6 separate regions of the Homo sapiens genome follow, and regions 1, 2, 3, 5 and 6 are each linked to region 4. The links are contacts of gene promoters, found by promoter capture Hi-C in blood cells and fetal thymus (Javierre and others, 2016). All regions are on one chromosome and are shown on one strand. The core of a region is centred on a gene start or on the middle of the fragment in contact, and the rest is flanking DNA. Distances in the headings are between cores, read along the strand shown. Region 1 overlaps LINC02774 (long intergenic non-protein coding RNA 2774). Region 2 overlaps ADSS2 (adenylosuccinate synthase 2). Region 3 overlaps CATSPERE (catsper channel auxiliary subunit epsilon). Region 4 holds the start of FH (fumarate hydratase). Region 5 overlaps LOC105373262 (a long non-coding RNA gene). Region 6 has its middle 7.9 kb from the start of ZBTB18.

Region 1 (3,009 bases), core at 133-2,632, 2.5 Mb after region 4:
TTTTAGCTTGTTTATGTGGTTCGATTGAGATCATGGATGTATCCTCAAGGATAAACACCCAAATGACTATGTGTTTTCAAAGCATGGCAGATTCTAATTTGTTTAAAAACAATGGAGTTTTTTCTTTTGATTTCAGAGTGGCCTAAATATCTGAAGAAAAATGACTTAGTGAATTGTTGATGAACTAGCTCTGCAACTCACCAATCTTAATTTGGGGCCTTGGACAAGTCACTTAGCCATTCCATTTCAACATTCTCCTCCAAGTAATGAAAATAACAACACATCTTATGCCTATAAGCGATGTTTGAGGAATAACTCACCTCTAAAATGCCTCAAGGATGAAACATCTCTTCTATATCCTAAAGAATCGCTATGCTTCTCCCAGGAGTAAAGTCTCTACCACATCCATCTGGGATATTTCTAGGTTGGGTCAGAGTGCACCCCCAAAAAGTAAATAGATGCTTTTCTGGTAGTCTACATAATAAGCTGTCCTTCATCCCAAGTTTAAAGGGAGCAGTTGAACATGTAAAGCATTGCTAATCCCGCTGGCCTTGGAAAAATGCAAAGGTGTAAGTTATTTCTTTTCATTATCTCCCTTCCCTTTTCCCCGCCTTCCCCTTTCTTTTCCTTCTCTTCTGCCCTCTCCCTTCTTTCCTTCTGTTCTCTCCCTCCCTCCCTTTCTAGACTATTTCTTGAATGCGTATTATGTGCCAAGCACCATTCTAGGTGCTAAGGATACAGCTATTATCATAGAAGAGTCCCCATCCTGAGGAAGCTTACATCCCACCAAGGAAGATAGGAAACAAAAAATAGGTGGGTATCTTTGATAATGGGAATTTTCCTGGTTCACTTTATCAAAGTAGTTCAAGAGTGTTTCCTTCCAATGCTAGTTCGTGCATCTGGTTATGAGCCAGGCCAGATGTTTTGTACAGAGGCTGATGTAATTCCAACCAGGCCTGATGCATGATAGGGATTCAGTGGCTGTTGAAGGAATGAATTTATTTCTGAAATGTGATTAGTTAGGTTAACAAATAGTTCAAATTACTCAATGAAATGTCAATACATACCTACAATTTCCCTATAAGGTCAACCTAAAACTACGCAATGAATGTGCTATGAAATTCTTATCTCTATTAAGAAAAATCTAGTTCATATTAAGCCAATCTTACCAGAAAAACCAGCCAAACTAGTAACTTAGGTATATGAGTGTGCATGTGAGTACACACACACACACACACACACACACACACGCCTTGCCCTGATCGTAGCAACCTCATGTCTGGAAAGAGTTAAATACTGAGTATAGTCTACATTATTTTTTTAAAATTCTTTATTCTTTTATCAAGTGCTCTCTTGGCAAAATCAACTGAGTATATTCTAGTCTTCTTTACTTTGGGGCCAGCTATTTCATGAAGTATTATTTAAGAATAATTTGCAAGACAAAAAATAGTGGCATACATCAGCAGAGCCCAGGAAGAAGTATTCACATCTCTGCTTTATTTACCTTGCTGCTGCCACCACCAACTCTGCCAGCACCATTGCCACCACCATGGCCTCTACCATAGACCACTTCCCAGTGGGATCTTTCCTTCTCTTTACCTCTCTTCCGTTATCCTTCTTCTACACTGTCACCATCTTCTCACCATTCTTTACAGCCCTCCCATCCCTGTAAAGCTGTTGTCCCATATATTGCTCTACTCTGTCTGTCATTTGTCTCTAAAATGCCCTATTGTGCATGTGTCTTTGTTATGCAGTCTCTTGTCACTGTCTGTTTTAGTGAGCCTGTGTTCCTGCATCTGTCCCATATCCCAAGTGCTAAGGTACGGCGTGGCATTGTACACCAGTTGTGAGTCCAATTTCTTTTTCTGAACCCAAACTTTTTTTTTTTGCCATGACCTTGCTGAACAGCCTCAGTTGTGTAAAGTTACTTCAGAGCAATGGGTTTTCAGTTAAAACATGTGACATTTATGTACAGAGACAGAGAACAAAGAAAGCTTCAAGGCCCCTAGAAGGAATGTGAAATGTGTGTTCTCTGAGTTCATATTCAAGAACCACTTTTCCTATTGTCTCCCATAAAGCTATTACTGCAGCTTCAATTTAAAATGCTTATTTTTACTGAGTTTAATTTAGATACACATTTGCATTGTAAAATGGGTACTTTAAAAATAATCATTTTAGTCTTAGGCATAAATGCTAGTTCTTTGTAAGAGAAGTAACTTCCTGAGTTGCATGTTATTGCTAAGGGCGAAGTAAATTTCTGGAGTGAAATTTAACCTTCTGTCTGCTCTTATTACCGGGAATAGTTTGAATTTGGTATGTATCAAGACTTTTGTGTTAAATTTATAGAATTTCTTTATAACCAAAGAGTTGTATTAAGACAATTTTATCTTGTTACAGTAGTTAAGATTGGTAAACACTTATTAGGCATCAGCAACATATTAGTCTCTGAAAGAAAAATGAAATCTCATCTTTGTCCAGTGGATTCACAATGACATTTATATATACATAATGAAGATATAAGAGGGAATGATATTATTTCATGTATTGTTGGCACCCAGCACATGGTGGAAACTTAACAAGAACCATGATAATGCAGTTTCGTGTTTCTCTAACATATACTAAGTTCTTAGTAAATAATTTCTAGATGTATCATTTTCCTTTCTGCTTGTTTAAATCCAAGAAGGTGCTGCATTCAAGAGTGAAGCAAGCACAAAAGGAAAGGAAAAATCTCTCCCTGGAGGAGAATGCAGACAGACAGACAGACGCTATTTGTATCTTTGCGTCCGAAGCACAGCAGCTAACACACAGTAGGTGTGAGGCATCAATATTACCTGGTAACCTCTCTTGTTCTGTTCATTTCAACTTTTCTAAGTTCATTTGCAACCCGAATTTCTACAAACTCCAATTTAAGCAATGTAATACAAGTGAGAATATTAGCATTCAAATATTTAGAAGTCTTATCCTCTCATTTTGAATAAAACAACTTCTATTTACTAATATTGTACAACA
Region 2 (2,950 bases), core at 319-2,818, 2.9 Mb after region 4:
TCACTATAGCCCAAGCAGGCCTTGAATTCCTGGGCTCAAGCGATCCTCCTGTCTCAGCCTCCTGAGTCCCTGAGACCGCATGTGCATGTCACCCTGCCTAACTACAACCAGTTTATTTTTTTAAAACCAGTTTTTAGGCTGGGCACGGTGGCTCACACCTGTAATCCCAGCACTTTGGGAGGCTGAGGCGGGTAGGTCACAAGGTCAGGAGACTGAGACCATCCTAACCAACATAATGAAACCCCGTCTCTACTAAAAATACAAAAAATTAGCCAGGCGTGGTGGCACGTGCCTGTAGTCCCAGCTACTCGGGAGGCTGAGGCAGGAGAATGGCGTGAACCCAGGAGGCGGAGCTTGCAGTGAGCCGAGATCACGCCACTGCACTCCAGCCTGGGCCACAGAACAAGACTCTGTCTCAAACAAACAAACAAAAAGTTTTAAAAAATTCATCATTTGCTCAAGGTTAAAAATAAACTACTCTAATTTTTGGAGTAGACCCTTAAAGTAGGTCTCCTAATTTACACAAAATTACTTTTATAGCTATACCAATATAATCATTTGATGAATTATTATTTGACAATTATTACTGGTAGTGAATGACAATGTTCTTATTGTGTAACAAAAGCTTACTCTCTTAGCTAATATTTTACCAAGACAGATAGTAATGATGGAATTAACCATAATAAAGAGATGATGGTTGCTCTACACACACACACACACACACACACACAAATTTTTTAGGCAGATGGTTGTGATGGATGACTTTAGGGGGAAAAATTGGCTTAACTCCCTAAGTTTGTCCAAGTTTATAGGCAGCTCAGGCTGGAAAGTTCAGCAGTAAAAGACAAAGTCACATGGTGGTATAAAGTTTGCTCATTCAAATATTAGTTATTGAAAAATAGCAACATTTTTCAATAACCAGTATTACATTGATTATTATATGGTTTAAATATCATTTAAGTTGTTTCCGTATGGAAACATTGTTAAATATACCCAGAAACACCCGAGATTATCCTACGTGGGATTTAGGGGGAAATATCTAAGTGCTTATTTATATTTGGTCACTAGTGCTCTGTGAGGCAGTTGGGGTATAACTTTTAATCTTGAAACGCACACTACACAGAAGGGTCTTCAGGAGAACTGAGAAAGAGCTGCTCATAAGGAGTTTCTTGATGAGGTAATCTATATAGGAAGCAAGTTTTAGTATACTGTATTTTATAAAATGCAACAGATAAAGAAATTTGAAGTGCCCATTTGGATGTTAACCTAAAATATTCAGATTATGTAAATAGGCAAAATTCACCTTGGGAGCTCAGGCAATTGTCCTCAAACAGAGATTATACTGGTTCAAGGAGAGGTCACATATTAGCAGACAGTAAAACAAAGCATTTCAAATATGAGCACCATAACCAAAAACAGTTTCAAATACGAGCACCCCCTCAGTCTCCCACCTATGTATTAGAAGGGCAGATGGAGCTGCTCCTACATGGGCCCATGGGCAACTCTGTGTAATATGTGCCAGGATGAGCAACAGCAAGGATGTGTTTGATTCATCATGTTTCATGATTCTCCCAAGCAGCACTGGGGAGGCCAGATAGTACCAAACAAATGATGGGAGATATTTTGTTGTTGTTGTTCTACTTCTAACGGAAACATACAATTTCCTTCTCAATCCAAATTTTCCACAAACCAAACTTGGTAAGTTATCTCCCACAAATGTATTAGTCTTATAATCACATTAACAGTTACACTAACTACCTCCTGCTTCTTTGCCAAACTCCCGTAACACTTATGATCCCAGTCACTCTTGTAGCATTTAACAAATACTTTTCATTATCATAGCTGTATATTCTATATTACTTAACAAAAAAATAGAATATGTTCAATTAATAGTTATATAAACAAAGGGCTGTGGAATCTCAACGTTGTTTCTGGATCAATTATATCCAACAGGGAAAACATTTAGTAATAAATCTCAGAGATAATTTTTTGAACTTTGTTTTTCCTAGAAATAAGTCATATTTCTGAGTTGGTAAAATGCTTTTCTGAACGTACATTTTTGGTATCTGGCACAGTCAACCAAATGTCTGTCCATTTTTGTGTAGCCTTTATACAGTACAGATTTCAGACATCATCCTTGCATCTGAATATTAAAAACATTTGACATTGTTTTTTTCAGTCCGCACAACACCCCTATGAAGTAGGTGGTACTGACTATTCCACAGATGGGGAGGCCTAGGCACGGAAAGGTTTAGTGGCTCCTCACAAGCCACGTGGCAGGGAGGCGGAGTGGCAGAGTGGCGGAGCGGCTCTCCAGCCACGTGCTGACACCGCCTTCTCATTCACACTTCCATCAGTGCCACAACACTGCATGGCAGGCTTTCAGGTTGAGGCCAATTTTTAAACCATTTTACTTCTGAAATATACCCTACCCCCCACCAACACCCCAAGAAACAAAAAACAGCATGAGTCCACAAGTAGCTACGTGGCAGGTTTCTTTGAGGAAAAGCATAAGCTTATAATGCCTTATATGATGTTCTTCTTATATTAAATACCAAGAATAAATGCAGGTTAATTTTATTAAAGTGAACAATATATGAAAGAAAATTCAATTGCAGTCACAAAACATCCCCTAATATAGTATATATTTTACCAATTTTCTTTGACTGTTATTCTTACATTAAGATGAAATACAGGCCGGGCGCGGTGGCTCACGCCTGTAATCCCAGCACTTTGGGAGGCCGAGGCGGGCGGATCACGAGGTCAGGAGATCGAGACCATCCCGGCTAAAACGGTGAAACCCCGTCTCTACTAAAAATACAAAAAATTAGCCGGGCGTAGTGGCGGGCGCCTGTAGTCCCAGCTACTTGGGAGGCTGAGGCAGGAGAATGGCGTGAACCCGGGAGGCGGAGCTTGCAGTGAGCCGAGATCCCGCCACTGCACTCCAGCC
Region 3 (3,223 bases), core at 473-2,972, 2.9 Mb after region 4:
AGACAAATCAGGATGTATGGTCACCCAAACTATAGACCTCATTCTCTATATTACTTTTCTTATTCAACACTTTCTACTTCATTTCTTCTTATCTGCCTAATTACTGGTGTAAATCAATTATATTTTATATACCCCTATTGCTGGACATATAGCTTCCTACCATCACAAACAATACTGGAATGAGTGTCCTCTATAGGTCCTTTTATGTATCTGTGTATCTGTGCAATCATTTTCCTGCTATATGTAGCCAAATAGAGTTGCCTGGCCATGGGAAATACACTTAATTTAACAAAGTTCCGCAAGATTGTTTCCCGAATGGCAGTTACAATTTATATTCTCACTCAATGTACATCTTCACCAAAATTTGGTGTTATTAAATTTCCTATTTTTTTTTTACCAATCTCATTATTATCCAGTGATAGCTATTGCTGTTGTTATTTTCAGTTTCTTTGATGACTAGTGATTTTGAGCATCTCTTCGCATATTATGTAGGCTTCTCCTTCTATTACCTGTTCATACCCTTTGCCTATTTTTCATTTAATTTTCTGCCTTTTTCTTACTCGTTAACACAGTGCTATCTACATTGCGTTGTAAAAATTAATCAAATGTTGGTTTCAAAGATTCAGTTATCTCAAGTTTCTGTTAACTTTGTTCATGGATACTTTACTGAAAAAAAAAAAAGCTGAATTTTGATGAGCCAAATCTCTCCCCTCCTTTGCCTTATGATTTAAACTTTTGGAGGCTCCTTTTTTTTTTTTTTGGAGACAGAGTCTCACTCTGTCACCCAGGCTGGAGTGCAGTGGTGCAATCTTGGCTCACTGTAACCTCTGCCTCCCGGGTTCAAGCGATTCTTCTGCCTCAGCCTCCTGAGTAGCTGGGACTACAGGTGCACACTACCATGCCCGGCTAATTTTTGTACTTGTAGTAGAGATGGGATTTCACCATATTGGCCAGGCTGGTCTTGAACTCCTGACCTCGTGATCCACCAGCCTCGGCCTCCCAAAGTGCTGGGATTACAGGCCTGAGCCACCGCGCCTGTCCAGGGCTCTTATTTAATAAAAATATTTGCTTACCCTGAACTGAAATGTTTTTATAATTTTAGTTTATATTTCTTATATTTTTACCTTTAAAATATAGGTCATAAATCCATCTAGAGTCTGCCTTGTATATAGTACAATAGGCATTCACATTACTTTTTTCACATAATGAACCAGAATCTATTAAACAACTCACTGTTCCCCTATTACCTTTCTCATGTCACCTTTGTTCCGTATGTAGATGAGTTGTTTGTGAACTTTCTTATTTGTCCTGGTGCCAATTCTACACTCTCTTAACTGCTATAGCTTTCTAATGAGTCTTCGGATCTGGTCCTGTGAACATCTAGTTTGTTCTTCCACAAGACTACTTTGGCTATTTGCGTTTTTATATAAATTTTAGAATAAGGCTGTTAGTTTTCACAAGCAAAAATCTGCTGAGATTTTGATTGGGATTGCACTTGGGGAGAACTGACATTGTTATCATAGTAACTGGTATCATTATGATATTGAATCTTCCAATTCATGAAGAATGATGTAGCCCTCCAGAGTTGATCTCATTATCTTCTTCCTAACTTTAGTAGATTTCTTCCAACATCTCCCAATTAAACAGATGCTCCCTTTTGGGCAGAGAGAGATACATTTCATTAAATTAACTAAGTATTCATTGGTTCCTAATTTATTGAATATGGTAAAAAATAGTCGCTATAAGTGATACTTATAGTGAATTGTGAAATGCCTTTTCACAGTCTACAGAAAAAAGTTTTTGAGTTTTCTCAGACTTGTTATCATAGTGAATCATATTAACATATTCACTTTTATTGTATCATCCTTGGATTTTGGGAAAACCCCACACGGTACCAATGTAGTAGTTCAATATGCTCTCAGGGACTATTGTTAATATTTTATATAAGATTCTTTTATCAATATTCATACATGAGTTTGCTCCACAGCAGTTATCTCAGTGGGGATGCCACTGAAATTTTGAGCAGGAAAAATTTTCATTGTATGGAACTATCCTTTGCTTTGCAGAACAGCTTGCTTCCCTGGTTCCCAAACACTAAGTAGCAGTGACAATCCTCAGGGATTGTGTGACCTGAGATACTCTTCCATATTTCCAGATGCCCTCTAAGGCAGGCAGAATCCAGCCAGTACACACTTGGGTAGCATGCTGCCTGGTATTCGCTTGGAACTGTCAGTGTCTGTGCTGTACAACTTGTTAAACACTTGTCATATTATCCCTGTCTTTAAGGGAGCGTGTAGCAGTCAGGGGTCAGAGGACAGCAGTAACCACTCTAGATATTTCAAGCAGAAATTTATTTGCTACAGGAAATTAGGTGCTCACCAAACTGTTGGGAGGGCTAGGAAAGCAAGGGTCTTAGAAACCCCCACTAATTTTTAGGTTTATCAATAGTCAAAAAGTTGCTGTTGCCACCAGAGATCAGGACCTGGAGGAAATAGGTGCCCATGTCACAAGTCTCTCCCAGTACCTAATGAGGGATGGTGCTCAATGGAAAGATGGGACAGAGGCCTTCCCCAAAACCACCTATCTTTGAAGCCTGGACTTTTGGTACCACTGCCTGAGGAAGAAGAATGGCTTCCTCTTTTTTACAAGTTCCAGTCCACATCTGATTTTCAGTCGTTCAGAACCCTTGAGGGTTCCTGGTTTCCAGCTCCTGCAATCTAGGGATAGCCTAGAGTTATGCAGGAATGAATGATCATGGCTGAGAATACAATACACAACAGTCAATTCCTAGCACTGTGTGGTATCACTCGTAAATTAGAATCAGGAGTCTTTAGTTAATTTTTACTAAATAACTCAACAATTTCTGTTGTGTTTTCTATCAGTGTTGTGCTCCCTTTATAAATAAATAAATATTTATAATTTGAACCAGGCCCAGATGGTTTTGTGTGGGAATTCTACCAAATCTTTAAGAAGCACATCATTTCAGTATTGTTTAAATTTTTCTAAAGTATAAAAAAGAAAGGAGGAAAAGACCTAAGGGGATATTTCACAAAAAAGGATGTACAAATGACCAGCAAACTTATGAAAAATTAGTGAAGTGTGAATTAAAATTACAGGGAGATGTAATTACAAACCAATCAGAATGCCTAAAATTAAGAAGACTGAAGATAACAAGGGGTGGTAAGAATGTAAAGCAGTAGGAACTCTAATACACCACTAGAAG
Region 4 (3,128 bases), core at 394-2,893:
AAAGGTACCTTAGGGCATCAAGGGTTATGTGAAATTCTCAACATTAGCAACAGGAAGAACTTTTAACAAAACCAACAGAGATTTTGGACCTGAGAATGGTTAGAGGGCAAAAAGTACCAGAACTAGAAAAAACAAAAACTACCTCCATCTGATTTTAGCTAACATTACAATTCTAAGAGCAAAGTAGTGCTGCTATTTTTTGACATTTGCATCAACAGGATAGATTCAGAAGTTCTCCAGTCTGCTTCCCTTTACAAAACACTAAATAAACAATAAATAAATTTAAAAATATGTAAAGGTTTTAAAATGCCCTAAAATTATTCGAGCAGGGAGTTCGAGGAATACAAAACATCTCTGATTCTGTAGTATAGTTGTATATCGTAGGTATAGTGACCCAATCAAATTATCTTGAAGTTTAGAGTCCAGAAAAAGTACTGGCCCTTTGAAATACCCTAGATGGGGCACTTATTTAATGAGCACTCGCTACATGGTATTTTCACATGTGCAGTTTTGCTGAGTAGCTGTAAGTATTTCAACTTTGCATACGGATTTGAAATCACATCTCTTAGATTGCAAACCTCATGCTACACCAGTGCAGAACTGTAACTCTTCAACTATCATTTCTCAAACGTTTCCTAACAATATACATATGTATTTAAAGCTTTTTAAAAGCCTGCATTCCTAAAGATGACACTCTAAAGAGCAAAATGACTTACGTAAGCATGTCATAACCTGAACTTGGATCTTTAAGTTCTTAGCTGGCTTTCTGAATAAAAAGTACCGATTCAGCTCCTAGCCAATCTGCTCAAACATGCTTCAGAACACTATGCCCGCGGTATTCGGAATTGAAGAGTTTTACAACAATTACGGGGGAAACCATAGTCAGCCTAACAAACTGAGCATGCAATTTCAAAGGAAGTAAAATCTTCGAAGAACCTTCTACCCCACCTGGAGGGCCTGAAAGCAGTGCAGTGCCCCTTGGCGAAACAAACCACAGTTCAGAAACCACTAGATGCACAGGCGGCCAGTGTCCGGCCAGCAAGGCCCAGCTATGGGGCAGGACGGTGCGGGAGCTGCCCCTCTCCCAGCACCCTCCGCCCACGCCGGCACTGTCCTTGAGGGCAGCGCCCCGGGGCTGGGGGCCTGCGCGCCAGCAGCAGCGAAGTTACCTCAAAACGCCCCGGCCTCGGCCCGCCACGGACGGCTCCGAGGAGGCGCCGGGAGCGGGCCCAGTAGGACCCTCTCTGACAGCCCCCGTCCCTCCCCAAGCGCTCTCCCGGGCTGCGGCTCCATCCCTGCGCCGGAAGAGGCGTCCCGAGGCCGGGAGGCCCGCCACGCCGGCACGGGCGCTAAGCCCAGAGTCTGGCGCGGCCCGGACGCCCGGGGAATCTCTCCCGCCAAGTCGCGGGCGCCCAGGCCGGCAGGCAGGAGGGCTGAAGGTCACTGCGGGGAGGCCGGGGGATGGCGGCCTGCGCTCACCATTCGAGCCGCGTTCGGAGGCCAAAACGAGGGCACGGCCGCGCCACCCAAGCCGGGAGCCGAAGCTAAGGCTGCGGCTGGAGCCCGCACGAGGGGACGCGAGCGCGCGAGGAGCCGAAGTGCTCGGTACATGGTGCTGAGGGAGCTTGGGTAGAATTTCTGGGCGGCTGTGGCCACGCCTCCACGCCGGTTGTCAGAAACCGTTCCGCCCACCGGCCTCCGCTCTTATCCAATCAACAGCCTCACACCGACAGGTGGGGCAGGACCAATCGTGAATGACCAGTAAAGAATGAGGGGGCGGGTTAACTTTCTAGTAGTAGTGTGGGGTGTAAGGCCTTCGGATTCATGGGAAACTAGAAAGAAGGGAATTATGGGAAAGGAGGCTCAGGTTATTCTTGGAGCCGGTCTGATTTTTACGTGTGGCTGTTAGAAGGCGGGAGTATTAGTTGGTGAATCAGGTCGTGTTTGGTTGGTGAAATATCCTAGAAAGAAATATTTATTGTTTTATTTATCATGTAATCACTCATTACACGTTCTTACTACTGAAATCTTTCTTCATTTCTTCCAGATTGTATCTTCTGTGTAGAAATTTTGGGAAGTGCAGCAAAGTGTAGATAATGAAATAGTAATTATTCATAATCCCACAACTGAAAAATAAGCTACTTACTTATTTCTTTTAACTTATCATTTTGAGATCGCTACCGTTTCCTTTCTCTTCTTAGCCTATACCCTCAGAACTCTTTTTTTTTTTTTAATGTATTGTGGAAGACGTACACAATTATAGGGAACCTCGGAATTTTTATTATTTGTATATCGTTCTCCCAGTTTTTTGCATAGCTAATTTATACATTTTCAAATTAAAGGCATATTGTTTTAATATAATAGTTGATTACAGAAAAGCAGGAATTGATATAAAATTGCATCTGAACCACAGTTTTATCTTTTCTCTTTTCTATTGCTTGGAACCAGATGACAGTAAAGAGAGAGCGATCGGATGTTCTTAAAATCAAAAGTCCAGAACCTGCAAAGCCAAATTTATGAGTCAAACTTACAAACTTGCCAAACCTTTTGGTAACATTATGTTATTTTGTGACTTATAAATTTGACACATATTTAAAATATAAAAATTCAAATGAGATTGTAATAGTTGAACTACAATCAAAACACACTAGAAAACTGAATGCAAATTCTTTAAAACATTGCTAATAATGGAATGACGTTTTGTTTTTGTTCTCCTCCTTCCCAGCAGGTATCATTATTGTGTATATCATTATTTTGATGCATCCTTTCAGTTCTGTGTATTTTTTGCTTCATACACTAATATACAAACAATGGTTTTAATATTTTACTTTAAAGTTTTACTGTTGCATAATTGAACTCTATGCTTTTAAGATATAGCCATGATCTTTTAAAATTAATCATATTGGATCACATGAATATGAAATATTTTATTTATCCAGTTTCTTAATAAAGAACATTTTTCTTTGCTATTACACAAAATTATTTAATGAACATATGTTTATCATTTCTTCATAGATCATCTCTTTCTTCATTGTGTGGTGCCCCTCTTTATTGTTATTGTTGCTTGTCCTTTTAAACTTTTTTTAATATTGATATTTCTCTACCAATTTCATATTGGCTATTATTTG
Region 5 (3,399 bases), core at 900-3,399, 2.8 Mb after region 4:
CTCAAGAACTGGGAAAAATTTGATCCTCCTCAAACCTAAAAACAAAAAACTAGTTTTCTTTTGTAATACTGTTTGGCCTAAAAACGAACTGAGAGAAAATTACAAAAGTCAACCTTAGAACCTAGTGCCCCTATATAGGAAATCCTCAAATCAGCCTCCTCAGTCTTTTGTAACTAAAAGCAGAATAAGGAGGACAGGGCTAAGGAGAAAGGGAAATGCAGGGACAAGAGACAGGCTCAACAACTGGCTGCTTTACAAGCTCTCCAGCCCCCTTCAGGTTACCCTAAGGACAGTCCTTCAGGTAACTGTCATTGGTGTGGGAAGCCAGGCCACTGGAAGGCAAACTGCCCCAATGAGATAAATGGGAAAAAGCCCGGCACAGCTTGCCCCTTTGCCACAAGCTCTGCCACTGGAAAAGAACTGCTCTGACGGCCGAAGGACTGGATCCCAATCCCTGATGGCCTTGAGCTGAAGGAGACCTCTGCTCTGGCTGGCTTCCAAGTCAGACATTGTCATCAGCAAGACAAAGCCAAGGGCAACAGTAGAGGTAGCAAGTAAAATTATACATTTCCCTTTTGGGTTCAAGAGCTGCCTAGTCTATGCTAATCTACTTCTCTAAGCAACTCTTCTCCAAATCCTATCAGGTAACAGGGCAAATGTCACCCTCTCCCTCTAAAAGAAAAGATTCACACCCCTTTAGGACAAAAATATACTTTCCAAAATGGGTGGCTGCTTAATATGTACCCAACCTCTGAATTCACCTTCCTCTCTAATAGCCCTATTTCTCCCAAAAAGCTACCTAAATCTTTAACCGATAACTTCAACCTGTACCATCCTACTTCAGGGGTTTAAAAATAGCCCACACTTATTTGGATGAGCCCTAGCAAAAATCTAACCGAGCAATCTCTTGAGGGGAAACAACTTCTACAGTATGTAGATAACCTCCTCATTTGCTTCCCCTTCACAGGACACACACAACAACATGCAGTACAAACCATAAATTCCTAACAGAAGGAAAATAACTTTTCTCTAATTCAAAGGTTATAAAGGTAAAGAGGTATTTTTGTTAAGGAAGATTATAAAGAAAAGAAATTTTATATGAGAAAGGATCTTTTGTCGTAAATTTGCATCCTAAAGAAAAATAACTGATTGTTTAAAAAGAGGGATGCTTAGGACAAGTGAGAAAGTCCAAGCTTTTCATAGATGTTCTGTGTAAGTCATGAAAAGATTTGTGAAAGGGAATTTATAAAAGAAATATCAAACAATTTTGTTTTGTTTTGTTTATTTATTTTTACAATTTTTAATTTTTGTGAGTACACAGTAGGCATATATATGTATGGCGTACATGAGATATTTTGATACAAGCATACAATGTGTAATAATCACATCAGGATAAATGGGGTATCTATCACTTCAAACATTTATCCTTTCTTTGTGTTACAATCTAATTATAGTCTTATAGTTATTTTTAAATGTACAATAAATTATTGTTGACTGTAGTTACCCTGTTGTGCTATCAAATACTAGATCTTATTCATTCTAACTAACTATATTTTCATATCCAATAACCATCCCCCATTCTACTACTCCACTACCCTTCCCAGACTCTGGTAACCATCATTCTAACACAAATGTGAATTACAATGTTCTAATGTGAATTTAGAAATGTTTCGCTTCTCAGTAATTTTGTGATATGAACAAACATTACCAAAAACACAAGATTCTATTTTTCTAGTAAAATACCCTATGGTAGAATTTCAAATATCATGTTGGATTCTTTTCGTGTTTATTTGGATGAAAATAAGGTATGTTAAGTAAGTGTAATTATCTCATTTTTATACTGCTTGTATACTTTCTTGAGAAGTTCAGAACCATTTCTTCTCTGATAAAGATAATAACGTTATATACTTTCACAAAGAACAAGCATGGTTTTTAACCTGTTAAATTGAAATTCATACTACTAAATAAATGAATAAATAAGTAAATAAATAGAGGAAGCAGTGGAACTTCTTTCTTACAGTAGAATACCAAGTAATTAATGTAGAAGGAATGATGAAAATAGCAAACCACCATATGACACTATTATGGTTATAATTTATTCAGATAGGGATCATCCACAAATATTAAGGCTGATGGGTAGAAGTTGTTAAGGATCAGGATTTTAGCATAATTTTAGAAAATCTCCCCACAAAATGCTTATCAATTGCAAAGGTGAAAATGGTGACTCAATGGAGGAGAAATATGGAAGACACCAACATGACCAAGCAATCAAGATTAACATCACCAGTGATGAGACAAGACCACATCATATGCTGTAATGTGCAGAGCCCAGGATCCTGTCCATCATTTTCCTGTCAAGAAATCATGGCGAGGTCTGACCAAAATGAAATATTAGATGGAACCAGGTCTAGGGCCATCCTACATAACAAAAGGCCTGCACTCTTAAAAACTGAAGGATGTGGGGCCAGTTGCAGTGGGTCGTGCCTGTAATCCCAGCACTTTGGGAGGCCAAGGTGGGTGGATCACTTGAGCCCAGGAGTTTGAGACCAGCCTGAGCAACTTGAAACTCTGTTCTACAAAAAAAAGCAAAAATTAGCCGAGTGTGGTGGCACACGCCTGTAGTCCCAGATACTCAGGAGGCTGAGGTAGGAGGATCACCTGAGCCTGGAGAAGTCAAGGCTATAGTGAGCCATGATCACCCCACTGTACTCCAGCCTGGGTGACAGAGTGAGACTGTCTCAAAATAAAAACAAAAACAAAAAACGGAAGGATGTGGAAGACAGGGAAAGACTAAGAAATTATTCCATATTGAAGGGAATCTCCTTCCTTCTATTCGGACATGTGACAACTAAATGTAATGCATGCTCCTGGACTGGATCCTGGACCTGAAAGGGAAAAGAGACATGATGGGCTGAGCCAGCAAAATTTGAATGGGATCTGTGGATTGGGTAGCAGTGTTGTGCCCATGTTTATTTCTGCCTTGGAGGGTTTGTATAAGTTTTCTAGCACTGTCATAACAAATTACCACAAACCACATGGCTTTAAACAACAGAAATGTATTATCTTGAAGTTCTGGGGGCTAGAAGTCCAAAATCAAGGTGTCAGTAAGCTTGGTTCCTTCCGGAGACTCTGATGGAGAAAGCGTCCCATGCCTTTCTCCTTGCTTCTGGTGGTTGCTGGCAATACTTGGGGTGCCTTTGTTTGTGGCAGCAGATCCCCAACCTCTGCTTCCATCTTCACATAGCTATCTGTGTGTCTCTGTGTCTCTCTTTGTCCTCACCTTTTCTTATGAGGACACCAGTCTATGGGATTCAGGGCCCACCTTAATCCTTGGACGGATTCAATTGGAGATCCTTCATTACATCTGTAATGACCCTATTTCAAAATAAGGTCACATTC
Region 6 (3,289 bases), core at 339-2,838, 2.5 Mb after region 4:
ATGAAATTATTAGAATGCCTTAAATCACTCGAGTGGAAAATGTGTAAGCATTCTAGTCACTTAAGAAGATACTAAATGCACATTTAAAAAATGCGACCCATTTTCACAATCTACATCAAGAATGTTGAGGTAATTCCCTAGAAACTCATGAATCATGAAACTACGTGGCAGCATAGGTTGTTAAAAATACACTGTACAACTACTAATCCATATACCGTAAGTCACTTTTCGTGTGTAATTTTATCCTAAGTTGATCGGTCAAATCTATTCTCCTGTGTTCTGGTTTAAGTGGAAAATTGAAGGAGACCGGATGTTTTAATTTGGAAGACTGCTTGGCTAATGACTGGAATTCTAGGCAATTGAATTAGCAGGCATGCAATTGTTCACGATTAGCTATATACATCCTTTTTGTTGCTGGGAGAACTCGAAAGTTTCTAGGTTTTAATTCTCAAGTTTTAATTTAAACATGTAATTAAATACATGGACCATTAAAAGAACTCTGTTCCCTACTTTTTATGATTGTCCCAACTTCATGCTTATCTAGTTGGGTACATGTCAGGGTGAGAAACATTGCTGGTTGACCTGGGTAGGGAATTGACAGAACACTCACACATGCGGATGATACTGTAGAGGAATTGTCACAAACAACCCTAAGCTCAAGCAGTCAGGTGCAGGCATGGAGAGGTTTTGTAAACCGTGCTTGTCTCTAACTTCCAACCTTAAATAGAAATATGACTATGAAATTTTACATTATTACTGTCAAACTATGTTTATATTCAGTGGCCTATAGTAAGGTCAATATTTTTAACCTACAGAAGTGGGATATAAGGTCTGAAGTTTGAAAATGGACCATTTACCAACTACCTGGTGGCTTTGGATAGGAAGCCACAGGGATTTTGTCATGAAGTATAATAACATAATTTGGAATCCTAATTTCCATCCCCCTGCCTTTTTTTTTTTTTTTCTAAAACAATTTTTAAAGTATGTAACTCATCCTTGGTTTTAACCAGCCAAATACTGTTTCACATGAAAGGGGAATGTACATTTGACCCCCATAGAATAATTTCTTGAGCAGTTACAAGCTTACAAAAAGGGGAGGGAGGGGGACTTTTTATTTTCAGTTCCTATAGTAACTGGTCAGAGTATCTCAAAGCTTCCTGAAGATGCTGAGCGTTTACTTGAATTTAGTTCTGTGGACTAACATCTAATTTTAAGTAAGGAACATTATCTTAACAATCTTAACTGGATATACTTATAAAAATAATATTTTGACATGATTTGGAAGAAGTAACTTCTTAAAACATTCTTTGCAAAACTAGAACAGAATATTAATTACACAAACTGCCACATTTGGTAAGTGAAATGAAGGAATCATTTATTTGCCACATTTAAAAAAGGAAATTAATTTGTCATGTGATCATGTTGGAAACCATTAAAACTGATCCCTCCTTTGACATCTGGCTGATACATAGTATATTTTAAATATGTAGTTTTATTTACTTTAGAAAACTTCTTTTTCCTTTAGATAATCAATTATGCACTGGATTGATGTGGGTTCAGCATTGTGTGCTAGGGGTACCCTAGGGAAGATCCAAGAAGTATAAAGTGTTAAGGATACTAGTTTCGGATTTCCTTTCTGGTTAATTATGCTATCAGATTAATAGGTGAATCAAATAGAGTTTTTCTTTAACATTTGTTATGAATATCTACAAATAGGTTATTGAAAGGTTGGAAAAAGGGGAATACTATATTAACATTTTAGAACAGTTAAAATGGCCAAAATAATCATTTTCCAAGTAAATCTTTTTAACTACCATCAAAAAATCTTTTTTTTTTTTTTTTTTACCAAGAAGTGGCACTACTTAAAAAATCTCGAACTTCCAAGTGTTACGTATAAAACACACACCGACTCACTGACTCCATGAAGCCTTGACTCAAGAAATCCCATTGTACATATAAGATTTTTTTTTTAATGGTCTTAAGACCTCAAAATTTCCTGCATGGCATGACTATTTTATTCCTATAAAGCTTAAAACATTCTTTGATTTCCACTATAACGAGGGAAAGTTTCACATGCTCTGACTAGGAAACTGAGATAATTTTATATTTTAATTTGTAGATACTGACCTAAATTTTTGTTATAATTGTTTGTTGCAATGCTTGAATTTGCTGATAAGGTACAGTGAATTGAGTGTGAATTTGAAATGCGGCAAAGAAAAGCTCCGTCCTTTTCACTGAAATTACTTGACATTAAAATGCTAAAGATACCATCTTTAAAAATAAAGGAATAGTTTTATTTTTTAAAAGCGAATAGCTTTTAGGAGTTTCATTTTGGCTGTAGTCCAAGTTTATTATACTGACAGGATTTTGTCCCTTATGTTAAAATTTTTGTACCTTTGCCTACAAAAACACGGCAAAATATCTTTGTATATAATCCCTTGGTTTAAAATGTAGAACCGTTTATCTTTTGACTCCGAGTAGGTTTACTTCCATAAAAAAGAAACATTTTATGCTTCTAGGACCTCCGCCCTTGCTTACATTTCCTTAATATTATAAAAGGATAGCTAAAGTAATCAGATCTTATTGATGACACGGGAGGTTTTTAGAAATTCATTTTCAGAGGCACTTTAGAAATTGGACTTTCAGTATTTTTGTGAACCAACCCCTTAAAAAAATCTTTACTAATTAACTTTTGTAATTTCTTGTGAAAGAAGCTAAACTCCAAATTTAAAACACTGTAATCAGAAAGGATGAGGTCATATAAATGGAACAATGGCATGAAAAGTTGTTTTTTTTTTTTAAGTCTAAATACTTTATAATGTATCTGCTTACACTAAATAAATTGTTGAATTAATCATCCAGGTAATTCAGGCTTATAGGATAGTATTTGTCTAAAAATATTTAAGTACTTGCAATAAATCAGCATTTTTTTTGAGAGGGATGAATTATCCAGGTAAATTTCCTGATTTGATTCTAGCATTTACTAATGTACTGTGCATCATAATTCCTAGGTTTATGTGATCATGGTACTTTTCTTTAGCTGTAGGTACTTCACAAAAAATGTATATATATATTCTTTGAAAACCAAAATTTTTCTTGACTTTTGGGGCACATATGGCCAAATAAGGTATCTCCCTTTTCTAATCTTTGGAAATGGGTTTGCAGTCAAGCTTGCAATTTGCTATAGGAGGCATTCTCTAGTTAGTTTGGCAAGAAAGGAGTGAAAACCCAATTTGGCTTTAAAATGTAGCACATTAGTCAGTAACAGTTTCAGTGAGGATATTTAGAG

The links. The method cuts DNA at HindIII sites, captures the fragments that hold promoters and counts their contacts. A CHiCAGO score of 5 or more calls a contact.
Region 1: a fragment that was not itself captured here is called in contact with the fragment with the promoter of FH in region 4 in 3 of 17 cell types (fetal thymus, total CD8 T cells and non-activated CD4 T cells); the score reaches 7.0 in fetal thymus.
Region 2: a contact is called between a fragment that was not itself captured here and the fragment with the promoter of FH in region 4, in 1 of 17 cell types (total CD4 T cells). The highest score is 10.5, in total CD4 T cells.
Region 3: a fragment that was not itself captured here is called in contact with the fragment with the promoter of FH in region 4 in 2 of 17 cell types (non-activated CD4 T cells and total CD4 T cells); the score reaches 7.3 in non-activated CD4 T cells.
Region 5: a contact is called between a fragment that was not itself captured here and the fragment with the promoter of FH in region 4, in 1 of 17 cell types (total CD4 T cells). The highest score is 9.0, in total CD4 T cells.
Region 6: a contact is called between a fragment that was not itself captured here and the fragment with the promoter of FH in region 4, in 1 of 17 cell types (naive CD8 T cells). The highest score is 6.7, in naive CD8 T cells.

What each region holds. Positions count from the first base shown.
Region 1 is chr1:244,040,743-244,043,751 of GRCh38, forward strand. LINC02774 (long intergenic non-protein coding RNA 2774) reads left to right here. Exons shown (of 12, transcript NR_033883.1): 9 at 685-813; 10 at 2,681-2,807. Among named protein-coding and RNA genes, the nearest start is that of ZBTB18, 9.0 kb to the right of the region's middle. The HindIII fragment of the contact is 1,219 bases long and covers 774-1,992 here.
Region 2 is chr1:244,441,539-244,444,488 of GRCh38, forward strand. The region is part of intron 1 of ADSS2 (adenylosuccinate synthase 2); the gene reads right to left. Among named protein-coding and RNA genes, the nearest start is that of ADSS2, 8.9 kb to the right of the region's middle. The HindIII fragment of the contact is 1,890 bases long and covers 624-2,513 here.
Region 3 is chr1:244,464,293-244,467,515 of GRCh38, forward strand. The region is part of intron 2 of CATSPERE (catsper channel auxiliary subunit epsilon); the gene reads left to right. Among named protein-coding and RNA genes, the nearest start is that of CATSPERE, 4.6 kb to the left of the region's middle. The HindIII fragment of the contact is 6,278 bases long and covers 1-3,223 here.
Region 4 is chr1:241,518,112-241,521,239 of GRCh38, forward strand. FH (fumarate hydratase) reads right to left here and starts at 1,644. Exons shown (of 10, transcript NM_000143.4): 1 at 1,480-1,644. The coding sequence starts at 1,611. RefSeq lists silencers at 1,079-1,348, 1,524-1,806, 1,629-1,758 and an enhancer at 1,422-2,018. The HindIII fragment of the contact is 3,380 bases long and covers 660-3,128 here.
Region 5 is chr1:244,305,518-244,308,916 of GRCh38, forward strand. All of the region lies in intron 1 of LOC105373262 (a long non-coding RNA gene), which reads right to left. Among named protein-coding and RNA genes, the nearest start is that of SPMIP3, 45 kb to the right of the region's middle. The HindIII fragment of the contact is 1,916 bases long and covers 1,192-3,107 here.
Region 6 is chr1:244,057,572-244,060,860 of GRCh38, forward strand. No RefSeq gene overlaps it. Among named protein-coding and RNA genes, the nearest start is that of ZBTB18, 7.9 kb to the left of the region's middle. The HindIII fragment of the contact is 875 bases long and covers 1,152-2,026 here.